Regions from separate parts of the Homo sapiens genome. Here region 2 is linked to region 1. Evidence: promoter capture Hi-C in 16 types of primary human blood cells and fetal thymus (Javierre and others, 2016). All regions are on one chromosome and are shown on one strand. Each heading gives the region's core, a stretch centred on a gene start or on the middle of the fragment in contact. The rest is flanking DNA. Distances are from core to core; before and after follow the strand shown.

Region 1 (6,301 bases), core at 991-3,490:
TAGTTTTAATGAATTAATTTTCTTTTTCTTTTTTTTTTTTTTTTTTTTTTGTAGAGAGTGTCTCACTCTGTCAGCCAGGCTGGAGTAAAGTGGTATGATCATAGCTCACTGCAGCCTCAAACCCCTGGGTTCATGTGATCCTCCTGTCTCAGCCTTCAGAGTAGCTGGGACAACAGGTGTGTGCCACCATGTCCAGCTAATTTTTACTTATTTTTAAATTTTTTAGTATTTTTTGGTAGAGATGAGGTCTCGCTTTGTTGCCAGAGCTGGTTTGTTTGTTTGTTTTTGAGATGGAATCTCCCTCTGTCACCCAGGCTGGAGTGCAATGGTGTGATCTTGGCTCACTGCAACCTCTGTCTCTGGGGTTCAAGTGATTCTCCTGCCTCAACCTCCCCAGTAGCTGGGATTACAGGCCCATGCAACCACTCCCGGCTAATTTTTGTGTTTTTAGTAGAGACGGGGTTTCATCATGTTGGCCAGGCTGGTCTCGAACTCCTGACCTCAGGTGATCCACCTGCCTCGGCCTCCCAAAGTGCTGGGATTACAGGCATAAGCCACCATGCCTGGCCACAGAGCAGGTTTTGAACTACTAGCCTGAAGCTATTCTCCCGCCTTGGCCTCCCAAAGTGCTGGGATTACAGATATGTGCCACGGTGCCCAGGCTTTAAGCAACTTTTAAAAACTATCATTTTTATTTCAAATACTTATGGAGATGGTGGTATGATAATCTTTTCAGTTTGTAACGCCCTCTAACTGTGTAAAGTAGATCTGAAGTGTTTTCCTGACCCTCACTGGGATGGTTATTTCAAGTACAAAACGTTTTCACACCGTGGGTGATAATCTTCCATAAAAAATTTCATATTTGAATGAAAACAGCTCAAGAAATACACTAATGAGCAAAAATATATGGGGAAAGAGGAACGTGTAGTTTTGACTTAACTGAAGAAACCAAGAGGAAACTGGTCTCCATATGAAAATGTGATCCTGGAAAGTCAGGTGTCAAGATTTTCGAGTAGGAATCTACATGACTTGAATCTCCCTTACTTCCTGAATAAAAGTGACATCTTTCAGTATTTATTTAAAAAAATCATATGTCAGTGGAGCTTCCAGGTAAATTATCTTTAAAAAATCATATTTGAGTGGAGCTTCCAGGTAAATTATCTTCCTCTTTTAAGGGAGCTCCCTGTATTTCTAGCGGCTTTAACTGATATCCCTTTCAGTGAGAAATCCTCATTAGCTACATAAGAGGGGACTGGGTGTTTTTTTCAAAAAGCTGGTATTGGGACATCTACCTCTGTGATGTCCCTGGTCAGCTATATTGTCTAGGAGTTGAAACATTTTGTATTAATTTTCTATCATTTACTGGGTGCCTCTTCTGTGACAGTGCCACTCAAAGGTCTATTGATATATTATCAGGTGACTGAATTCTATATTCTGAAGTAGGAGATACTGTTATTGCTGTTATTACATTTTACACATAAGAAAGCTGAGGCTCTGAGAGGTCAAGATCACGCAGCTAACAAATGAGCCAAGACTCTTGCTTTAGAGCTTGTCCTCTATTCTTGCTTTTCTTTCCAAAAAACACTACAATTTTTGTTTTGTTTTGTTTTGTTTTGAGACAGGGTCTCGAGGTGTCACCCAGGCTGGAGTGCAGTGGCGCGATTTCGACTCACCGCAACCTCCGCCTCCGCGCTTAAGCGATTCTCCTGCCTCAGCCTCCCAAGTAGCTGGGACTACAAGCTCGGGACACCACGTAAAAATGATCAAGTTCTAACATGTATGCATACGAATTACAATGGAAATAAAATTAGCAAAGCGCTTATGCTAATGCTCAATACAATTGATTTCCTCACATTTAATCCTCACAACCACTACAACCACCTCTAACTCAAGCTCTGAGGGACTGACGTGCCCGGAGGACACAGCTCTTATCTGGTGAGAACAGGAGCGTTTTAGCGAAACTCCAAACTCCTAGGTCCCGCCTTCCCCAGGAAGGCTTTTCCTGGCACTGTGCTTCCGGAAGTCCCGCCCCAGGAGAAAAACAGCTTCCGGAAAAAATTGCGGCCGGCAAACCGGAACAGAACTAGGGGCGGGGCCGCTTGAGACGCTCTAGTATTCCTCTACTCTATGGCCACTGTCAATTGACAAGTCCCGAGCGGTAAAGCTCCTTTCTATTGGATGAGCAGCCTCGCGTAGGCGGGAAGCTCGGTGCACGGCGCGCTGATTGGCTGGATCCGCCATGCGGAGCGGCTAGGTGGTGCACGGGAAACGCGGGCGTAGGTGACCGGCGGCTTTCTCAGTTTTGGTGGAGACGGGCGCATGTGGGCGCTTTGCTCGCTGCTGCGGTCCGCGGCCGGACGCACCATGTCGCAGGGACGCACCATATCGCAGGCACCCGCCCGCCGCGAGCGGCCGCGCAAGGACCCGCTGCGGCACCTGCGCACGCGAGAGAAGCGCGGACCGTCGGGGTGCTCCGGCGGCCCAAACACCGTGTACCTGCAGGTGGTGGCAGCGGGTAGCCGGGACTCGGGCGCCGCGCTCTACGTCTTCTCCGAGTTCAACCGGTCAGTCAACGAGCCACGCCCCGTCCCGCTGGGCCCTCAGTGCGGCGCAGCCTCTGAGCATCGGGGCACCTCCCAGGGCTTCGGCTTCCCTGCTTCACACATGTGGTTCACTGTTGCGGGGGTTCGTGGAGTTATGGTGGGTGGGAAATCCGAGATTCTTTGCATCCATGTGATTTCTGCGGATCTGTGAAGAACTTCAGGCCTGGGTCTGAGCGTCCTTTTCCCAACCCTTGGGCCCCGGCCTGGCTGTCAGCACTTTCGGAGCTCCACCCTCTTCCGTGCACCCCAAGGCCAGTGTGTCGTTGTTAGCGTGTGGGGTGGACAGATCTGGTGTGTAGCCGGTGGTGGAGAAAGGACTCATTTTGTCCTAGCACCCACACACACAGGCCCCCACTCCTCTCCACCTCTGCTAAGGAGGGCTCAAAACCCACCAGCATAAATGTGGCTCGGTAGTCCAACGTGGACTTTTAATTTTTTTTTCTTTTTTTTTTTTCCAGAGTCTACAATAAAACATCTAATTGGTGTCAGAGAGTTTACAGAATAAAACCTTCTGAATGTCTTGTGTAATGTTTGTCTTGTAGGTATCTCTTCAACTGTGGAGAAGGCGTTCAGAGACTCATGCAGGAGCACAAGTGAGTCAGTCTCTTGCTTTCGGAGGGGGAGTTGATTACGGGGCTTGAAAGCCGAAATGAGAGGCCAGTTGTTTTTTATAGCAAAAGTGGTCCTTGTTCTGTTCATGTTATCCTGTTTAAATGTTTTTTCATTCTTAGGTTAAAGGTTGCTCGCCTGGACAACATATTCCTGACACGAATGCACTGGTCTAATGTTGGGGGCTTAAGTGGTGAGTATATTCTTTGCAGTGTCAGAGGCTGGTGGGAAGTCTCTGGGATTTTAACCGGCTTTACCATTTTTCCAAGTCTGGGGTGGGCAGCTACTTTTTTTTTTTTTTTTTTTTTTGTCAGTGGCGTGATCTTGGCTCACTGCAACCTTTGCCTTCTGGGCTCAGGTGATCCCCTCACCTCAGCCTCCCAAATAGCTGGGACCACACGTGTGCCCCATCACACCTGGCTAATTTTTTTTGTATGTTTTGTAGCGACGGGGTTTTGCTATGTTGCCCAGGCTGGTCTCAAACTTCTGCGATCCTCCTGTCTCGGCCTCCCAGAGTGCTGGGATTACAGGCATGAGCCACCGCACCTGGCCTGGAATTCTTTTTATACCAGCCCAGTCAGCAGCAGCACAGAGCATTAAAAGCTGTGACTCAGGAGAACAGATTTTAATATGGATACCACCTCTTAAGTGTTACCATCCACTTAGTTTCTTGCGTTGCGGGGACAGAGATTTGTGGCAGTAAACTGGAGAGTCTAGCAGTGGTGATTACAGTTAATATGTTTACCGCAGACGCCATTGGCACATTGGCAGCCACACACATACCCACTGTCCAGATTACCCTGTCATTTATGTCTATCAACCGGAAGGTCAGGATTGTGTTGCAGCCAAATTGTGTGGGCTTGGTGGCATGGACCGGAAGGAGTGAAGTGTTAGACCAGTCTCCCTTCTCAGGGCTGAGACTAGGGTGAGGCACTTAGGGTGCCAGCCCTTCACTTGCATGATTCCTTACATTTTGCACACTGGGTGCCTTGCTGCTTCACCCTAGTGACAGCTCAGCCCATTCTAGAGGCATTTAAAGAATATTTGGTGTCTGTTACACCTCTAGCTGGCATCACTTCTGCTCTGTACATCTTCCCTGGTTGTACTTCCAAAGCTGGAAGGTGGAGATGTAGATAAATAGTTGGATTAGTACGGGGTGCTCCTCCTGTTAGTGACGACAGGTCAAATTGATGAGAGATCTGATTTTATGCATCCTTTTTAGGAATGATTCTTACTTTAAAGGAAACCGGGCTTCCAAAGTGTGTACTTTCTGGACCTCCACAACTGGTGAGTCTTTCCTGACACATCTTTCAAAAGCAATCTTTCCTTTTGTAATATCAGTAACAAGAATTTTCCTTTTTGCAAATCAGTCTTCTGCCCTCCAGAGATACCTGGTCGTTGAAACGCTTCCCCTTTCAAGTTAAAAAGACTTGAGTTCTGATTAACTATGTGACCTTGATCAAGTTACTTTACCTTTCTGAGCTTTAGTTTATTCATCTATAAGATGACTATCACGTTTCATAGAGTTGTTAAAGATTAAATGACGTAGCAGCACATATAAAGCACTAAATCACTTTATTAGATATATGTTTGGCACCAAGTAGGCACACAAGAAAGGGCAGCTTTTGTTTTTATTCAATAAATTTCTGACATCTTCTTACCTTTCAGTCCAGCTTATTACACTCTTGAGAAGGCGTGTGTGTGTTGTTGAATATAACAGTTCATTTTCCAGTCCTTAAGAAGAAAGTCACCAAGACCTGTTAAGTCTTTCCCCAAAATAACGTTTGAAATCCATCCATTTGTCTCTTATTGAGGCCTTCCTTATTTCTGTTTTCTATGCCTGTAAACTACAATAGCCTCCCATATTCATTCTCGCCTTCCTGTAATCCATCTGCCACACAGCAGCCAGAGAGGTCACTTCAAGACAGAAAAGTAGTGTGTCACTTGCCACCCTAAAGCCCTTCATGGGCTCCCCATTGCAATACAATCAAAACACCTTGATATGGCCTACAAGTCCTGTAGGCCCCGGCCGCTACCCACACTTCCATCTGTACCCATCGCTGAACTGCAGCTGCATGGGCTGACTCTTATGTCCCTCTAACTCCCTGGCCACTTCAGGACTTTCGCCCTTCCGCGGGTTCCCTCTGCCTCTTCTAATTGCTGCCTATATTGTTACTGAACCTTCAGGGCTCAGCTAGAGGGTCATTTACTCCAGAACTGCCTCTTCTTCTCTAGACAAGTTGGATCCCAGCCTTCTGTATTTTTCATTTTCCTTGCAGAGCACTTAGCATAATGCCACTAAGCTGTTTCTGTTATCGTGTTTCCTTTTGTCTCCTCCACTGGCCTGATTAGAGCAAGGCCTCCATCTCTTTTTCCTGCTATATCCTTGGCATCTGATATAATGGATACTCAGTAAATATTTGTAATAAATGATGTTCAAAATATTTACTAAGCTTTGTTTTATGTTGATACCTATTGGTAACCTTTTAAATACTTGAATAGTTGCTGTGTTCTACATTTGTTCAACCATAACTGCTCATTTCTTTGTTTTTCATTAGGAAAAATACCTCGAAGCAATCAAAATATTTTCTGGTCCATTGAAAGGAATAGAACTGGGTACGTCTTTGTCTGTGACTCATCCTCTGCTATTTCTAACTTATATATGCCCTGACCTCTCAAATTAGAATCCATTAAAAACATCAACATCAAACCTCAAAATCAAATGCTTCATCACCACGAGATTTTTTTTTTTTTTTTTTTTTTTGGATAGAGTCTTGCTTTCTTACCAGGCTGGAGTGCAGTGGCATGATCTCGGCTCACTGCAACCTCCACCTCCTGGGTTCAAGCCATTCTCCCACCTCAGCCTCCTGAGTAGCTAGGACTACAGGCGCATGCCATCACGCTCAGCTAATTTTTTGTATTTTTAGTAGAGACGGGGTTTCACCATGTTGGCCAGGATAGTCTCGATCTCTTGACCTTGTGATCTGCCCGCCTCAGCCTCCCAAAATGAGCTACCATGTGGCTGGAGATGGGATTTCTAAATAGTGACATTTTCTGTGTTCCCACCTCATGCTGTAAAAATAGGGGCC
Region 2 (6,301 bases), core at 1,139-3,638, 2.3 Mb after region 1:
GCACGGTCAACCCTGTAGTCCACATCCACCCATAGTGCATGTGGTAATCCACAGTACTAAAGACACTGATCCTCGAAGAAAGGGGACTGAACCCTGCAAAGGCAAAACCAACAGACGCTCACTAAGGTGACTTTGAAAGTCCCAGCCGGGTGCAGTGGCTCATGCCTGTAATCCCAGCACTGTGGGAGGCCGAGGCAGGCAGATCATGAGGTCAGGAATTCGAGACCAGCCTGGCCAATATGGTGAAACTCCATCTCTACTAAAAAAAATACAAAAATTAGCCCAGCATGGTGGTGGGCGCCTGTAGTCCCAGCTACTCTGGAGGCTGAGGCAGGAGAATCACTTGAACCCAGGAGGCAGAGGTTGCAGTGAGCTGAGATCGTGCCACTGCACTCCAGCCTGGGCAACAGAGCAAGACTTTGTCTCAAAAAAATAGAAATAAAAAAAGAAAGTCCCAGACAACAGTGAAAACTATAAAACTTCATGGTGGTTGTATGGCATTCAAGAGCTTAAAAGCACTTCCATGCCATTGTTTCCTTGTGGGTATTATAATCATTCCCTGTATTAATTTGCTAGGACTGTCCCAACAAAGTACCACAGTCTAGGTGGCTTAAACAACGGAAATTTATTTTCTCACAGTTCTGGAGGCTGGAAGTCCAAATTCAGGATGTTGGTAGGGTTGGTTTCTCATGAGGCCTCTCCCCTTGGCTTGCAGACGGCCGTCTTCTCCCTGTGTGCCCATGTGGTCTTCCCTCTGTAACTGTCCCCTCTTCGTATCAGGACACTAGTCATATTGGATTAGGGTCCACCCTATAACCTCATTTTAACTTAATCATCTCTGTCAAGTCCCTGTCTGCAAATGCAGTCCCATTTTGAGGCACTGGGGGTTAGGGCTTCAGCATATGAATTGGGGGTGCAGGGGGAATGCAAGTCAGCCCCTAGCACTCTCGCTCTCATTTTTTTCTTTTATGTAAGGAAAAGCACAGTGAGAATAGTCTTCGCTTGTTTCCAATCCCAGGGCTGATTTAGCTGTGGAACTCCACCCAGTGCTGGTCCCCGCTGTCCCCACCCCACCTCTGCAAACACGGGTGCCCACCCCCGCCAGCCGCCAGGCTCCCTGCCTAGTCCCGGCACGGGACCTTCACGGTCCCAGCACCAGGCACAGAGCAGACAACGTTCTTGAAATAAGTGTTTCGTGAAAAGAATGAAACTGAGAGGGAAAGAAAAAAAAAACTAGACAGTTTTAGGAGATTTAGCTCAAAGGAAAAGAGGACAGGCACAGAAGCTCCTGATTTGAAGCGATAAAGACTCTTTAGAACAGCAGAAATGAGGCCTATGGATGTGTAAATGAGCCCGGGGAGGAACTAAGCAGAAGGGCGAATTACAAAACAGAAAAAGACCAGACAGACTAGGGGAGAACAGTGAATATTTCAGTGTCTTCGGTTCATAAGAAATTCATGAGCAATTTTGGAAATTTTGTTGGTTTTGGTGGTGGGAGAGAATTGTAAATATGTATAATATGTAAATATCTTTTATAATAAAAGCCCATGAAGATAAATGAGCCTGTCTGCCGAAAAGCTGTGAGCCGTATAAGATGTTAATATAACTGTCGTCACTCTAGAAATTACCATAATGCTTACAGGGATTTGAAAGTTCCTGAGCTTTGGAAGGAAATGCATAAATACTAAACAGAACACACACACACACACACACACACACACACACACACACACACACATCTCTTTTTCTTTCTCTTTCTTATTTTTGTAAAAACAATTTTTATCCTTTTTTTTTTGAGGAGTCTCGCTTTGTTGCCCAGGCTGGAGTGCAGTGGCACAATCTGGGCTCACTGCAACCTCCGCCGCCCGGGTTCAAGCAATTCTCCTGCCTCAGCCTCCTGAGTAGCTGGGATTACAGGCTCCCGCCACCACGCCCGACTAATTTTTTCGTATTTTTAGTAGAGATACGGGGTTTCACCATGTTGGCCAGGCTGCTTTCGAACTCCTGACCTCAGGTGATCCGCCCACCTCGGCCTCCCACAGTGCTGGGATTACAGGCGTGAGCCACTGCGCCCAGCCCTTTCTTTCCTTCTTTCTTTTTCTTTCTTTCTCTTTCTTCCTCTCTCCCCTCCCGCCTGCCTTCCTTCCTTTTTTCCTTCTTTTTTTTCTTTCTTCTTTTTTTTTTTTTTTGTGAGGAAGGTAGCTTTAGTGAAAACAGGGTTTGGAGTTGAACCTATACGGGTTCAAATTCGACTTCCGTCCACCACCGAGACCTGCGCTCCCTGAGGGACTCGCTTTCCCATCCGCGAAACCAGGACGGCGCCGCCTACACCCCGCGGCGTTCGGGGCGGGCTGAATGGGTCGCTGAGTGGGGGCTACACCCACGCCCTTCGCTCCCCGCCCCCGGGCGGAGCGACGGCCACGGCAGTGTCCCCAAGGCACCGAAACCGAGGCGGGGGTCTCGGTCCCTCCGCGCAAGGAGGAAGGCGGACCGTACGTGGCAGGACTCACCGCCCCGCACGTGGCAGGACTCACCGCCCCGCGCCGTGTTCTCCGAGCCATGGCGCCAGCGCTGTGGCGGGCCTGCAACGGACTCATGGCCGCCTTCTTCGCGCTGGCGGCCTTGGTGCAGGTCAGGCGGCCGCGGTGGGAGGGGGACCCGCCCGGCTCCCAGCTCCGCCCCCTGGCCTAGCGGGCCGTGTAACTGACTAGCGGGCAGAGTCGCAGGGGCGCACAGTTAGTGGGGAGGACGGGACTTGGGCTTTCTGCTTGGGGAGCCCCCACTTTCTCCCCCGTCTAAGAGACGCGGATGTGTTCATGGAAGCGAGTCCCATACCAGGGCTCACACCCTGGAAGGGGCTGGTTCCGCGCGTGGAACTTCCCAGGGGACCTCAGAAGAAGCGGCCCTGGCTCCTGCGTTAACGTCCGGCCCGCGGACGACACTGAACATATCTCAGGGCCTAGGAGACGAAGCCGACCAAAACCCTTTATAGCATCATTAAACTTTTTAGTCGGCTTGGGGACCCCCTTCATAATCATTTCCCTCATTTCTTGAGACTGGTGGGGGTGGAGGGCCCTTAAAATACCCGTTCTGGGTTGGCGAGTCCTCTCCAGAGCTCCCGTGAAGGCTTTTCAAAAATGTGTGGCTGCCTGTTAAAAACATCTGTTGTGTCAGCCAGAAACCCCTTCACCCGTCCTCATCTGGACTATATCCTGTTCAGATTTTGTACCCTCGATGCCTATTGCAGTGTCTGGCACTTAACAAATTAATAAAAAATGTGCTTAAATGAATTTAAAAGGAATGGAACAGCACAGGATGTCTGCTAACACCTTGGTATTCTGGCGTTCCAGGTAAATGACCCAGATGCAGAGGTGTGGGTGGTGAGTATGAGCCGCTTCCAGGCTTTCCTCCGTTTGGAAGAATTGGGGAACGGCACAAAACACACGGTTTTATGTCTTTACCCCTCCTCCCTGCTTAATTTTCTGAGAAACTTAAAAATCAAACCCTTGGGAAGCGCTTTTTCCTAAAATATTAATAGGCAGGATCAGAGTTCTAATGTAATGTGTGTGTGAATTTCGAACTTTCTGGAAACAGGTCTTTCTGCAGTATTCCCTTTGGTTAGATGGCCCAACTGAGGACTTTCTTGAGGACCTAGAGTAGGCCTCTCAAGATCAGTTGAACAATTCCTTATGAGTTTCTAGCCAGACACTCAATGCAAACCTTTGACCGGAAAATAACAGGCTTAAGTTCTGAGGTTCTGCTAATTCAGTGACTTATATTTCTAGAAAGTATTAACTCCTGGCTGGGCAAGGTGGCTCACGCCTGCAATCTCAGCACTCTGGGAGGCCAAGGCGGGTGGATCACTTGAGGTCAGGAGTTCTAGATCAGCCTGAGCAACATGGTGAAACCCCGTCTCCACCAAAAAATACAAAAATTAGCCAGGCGTGGTGGCATGCGCCTGTAGTCCCCAGCTACTAGGGAAGCTGAAGCAGGAGACTCGCTGGAACCCAGGAGGCAGAAGTTGCAGTGTGCTGAGATCGTGCCACTGCACTCCAGTCTGGGCGACAGAGTGAGACTCCATCTCAAAAAAAAAAAAGCAAAGAAAAAAAAGAAAAAAAAAAAGCAAAGAAAAGTATTAAATCCTGTAAAACCTACAGTCTTCATATAAGCAAGGCTCTGATTTGAACCATTTGGAGGAGGGGGCCATTGTTCCATACATCTTCTAAATATCTTTTTTTTTTTTTCTTTTTGAGACGGAGTTTTGCTCTTGTTGCCCAGGCTGGAGTGCAATGGCGCAATCTAGGCTCACCGCAACCTCTACCTCCCAGGTTTGAGTGATTCTTCTGCCTCAGTGTCCCAAGTAACTGGGATTACAGGCATGCGCCACCACACCCAGCTAATTTTGTATTTTTAGTAGAGACAGGGTTTCTCCATGTTGGTCAAGCTGGTCTTGAACTCTCGACCTCAGGTGATCCACCTGCCTCAGCCTCCCAAAGTGCTGGGATTACAGACATGAGTCACCGCGCCCGGCTCTAAATATCTTTTATCTTCCAAAATATCTGAATTTTGCCCAGTTTCTCTCAATATAGATACACAAGACTGTACAGTACACCAAGGAGATGACTCTTAAGCTTTAGAATAATATTGACAGAGGAGCAACAAGGATGATGGTATCTGGAATTATAACATGAAATTCTATCCAGGTTTTGTTTTTTTAGTGCAGTAAAACCACATTCTGATATTTACTATCCAGATCAGTATGCCTCTGAATCAAATCAAACTGCCTTTGCCTTGGCACCCTGGTCCGTATCTTGAATTCCAAATATTATTTCCCTGCAGACAAGTCTCAGACATCCAGCTTAATGGTGAATTTCCAAAAGACTGCTGCGTATATTCACCTGCATGTCACACTGCTCCTCAGATATGCCCAAGGACCTACCTAGCATCTTTCCCTCCAAAATCTACTTATCCTGACTCACCCATTTCTGTTATCAGCAGAATCATTCTCTGAGTCATTCTTGTTCAGAATCTCAGTCATCTTTATCATCTCTCTGTTCCTTACCACTGCCTTGGAGAGCCCCTCAAAACACAAAATAAATTTGAGTCGGGCATGGTGGCAGGCATCCGTAGTCCCAGTTACTCAAGAGGCTGAGGCAGGAGGCTCACTTGAGCCCAGGAGTTCGAGGCCAGCCTGTGCAACATAGCGAGACCCCCCCCATCTCCAAAAAATTAATTAAACAATCGAGGTCTAATTGCTTATCTCTATAGTACCTGCACATTTTACCTTTCATTCATGCTCAGACGATATAATAGGAGGAATAGACCCCATGTCCCCATAGACATCCTCCCTCATTCACAGTTCAGCCCTCCACTACCTCCCACATGGACCCCTGGCACCTGCCTTAACATCTTCTGATATAAGCACAGAAATTGATGTGATTAGACAGCTACATTGTTTGGAAAGTCCCCATCCTTCTTATAAACCCACCCTCCCTACTTATTCCCTGCCAACAACACACACAATAGTAAGTTTGGCTAGAGCCTGCTTGTTATGAACAAGGCTTAGGAATAGGGCCTCTTTAGGGCTAGTCTTCTCATTTCCAAACACTTATCAGCAGTTCCAAAATGAAGAGCCTGACCTTATTACTGGGCACAGCTGATTGTGTATGCATTATTAGAAAACTTTCTGTGGTCTCACAGAGATGCAGTACTGGCCTGGATGGTCCATTGGGTCCAAAGCCAGCAGGGCCATCTAGCATCGTGGCTGCTCCTGCCCTACTTTTCAAAGAACATTTTCTTTTATGCAAGTGGGGAAAGGCCATTTGGGCATGAAAGTTGCTTGGGAGCGACTGGAAAGTTAGTGTGTCTTAAGACCAAAACCCTGTGCTCAGTGTTAGAGCTCAAAGATAAATGAGCTTCTGGAATAGCCTATAGTCTAGGAGGAAGGTAGATAAAATTGCAGGCAGACGTGCTAAGTGCCACAAAAGGAGAATCTACCACTTTCTCAATCACCATTGAAACTTAGAGGCAAATCATGGGGCACAGCAGCCACTGATCTCATCTTTCTTTACTTCCTGTATCTCTGAACATCTCATATATTGGGCATACATCTTAACTCATGTAATTTCCTCCCTTTTTGCTAACAGGTGGTGTACACAATCCCTGCAGTACTGACCCTGCTTGTTGGACTTAACCCTGAAGTCACAGGTATAAGCCTTGCATTCTAAATGGAGAGACAGCAAATCAGATTTCCTCATAATAATGAGGGTCTATCTGCCCAACTCCCAGGAGTAAAACGGGG

The links. The method cuts DNA at HindIII sites, captures the fragments that hold promoters and counts their contacts. A CHiCAGO score of 5 or more calls a contact.
Region 2: a contact is called between the fragment with the promoter of TMEM220 here and the fragment with the promoter of ELAC2 in region 1, in 1 of 17 cell types (M0 macrophages). The highest score is 5.2, in M0 macrophages.

Annotation. Positions count from the first base shown.
Region 1 is chr17:13,013,966-13,020,266 of GRCh38, reverse strand. It overlaps ELAC2 (elaC ribonuclease Z 2), which reads left to right and starts at 2,240. Exons shown (of 24, transcript NM_018127.7): 1 at 2,240-2,564; 2 at 3,146-3,196; 3 at 3,335-3,405; 4 at 4,435-4,499; 5 at 5,771-5,828. The coding sequence starts at 2,320. RefSeq lists a silencer at 2,123-2,202 and enhancers at 2,723-2,782, 2,803-2,912, 2,424-2,924. The HindIII fragment of the contact is 8,738 bases long and covers 1-5,667 here.
Region 2 is chr17:10,726,110-10,732,410 of GRCh38, reverse strand. TMEM220 (transmembrane protein 220) reads left to right here and starts at 2,388. Exons shown (of 6, transcript NM_001004313.3): 1 at 2,388-2,631; 2 at 3,351-3,380; 3 at 6,147-6,207. The coding sequence starts at 2,560. It overlaps TMEM220-AS1 (TMEM220 antisense RNA 1), which reads right to left and starts at 2,634. Exons shown (of 4, transcript NR_073458.1): 1 at 2,511-2,634. RefSeq lists enhancers at 1,763-2,349, 2,350-2,936 and silencers at 2,330-2,569, 2,580-2,749. The HindIII fragment of the contact is 4,877 bases long and covers 1-4,633 here.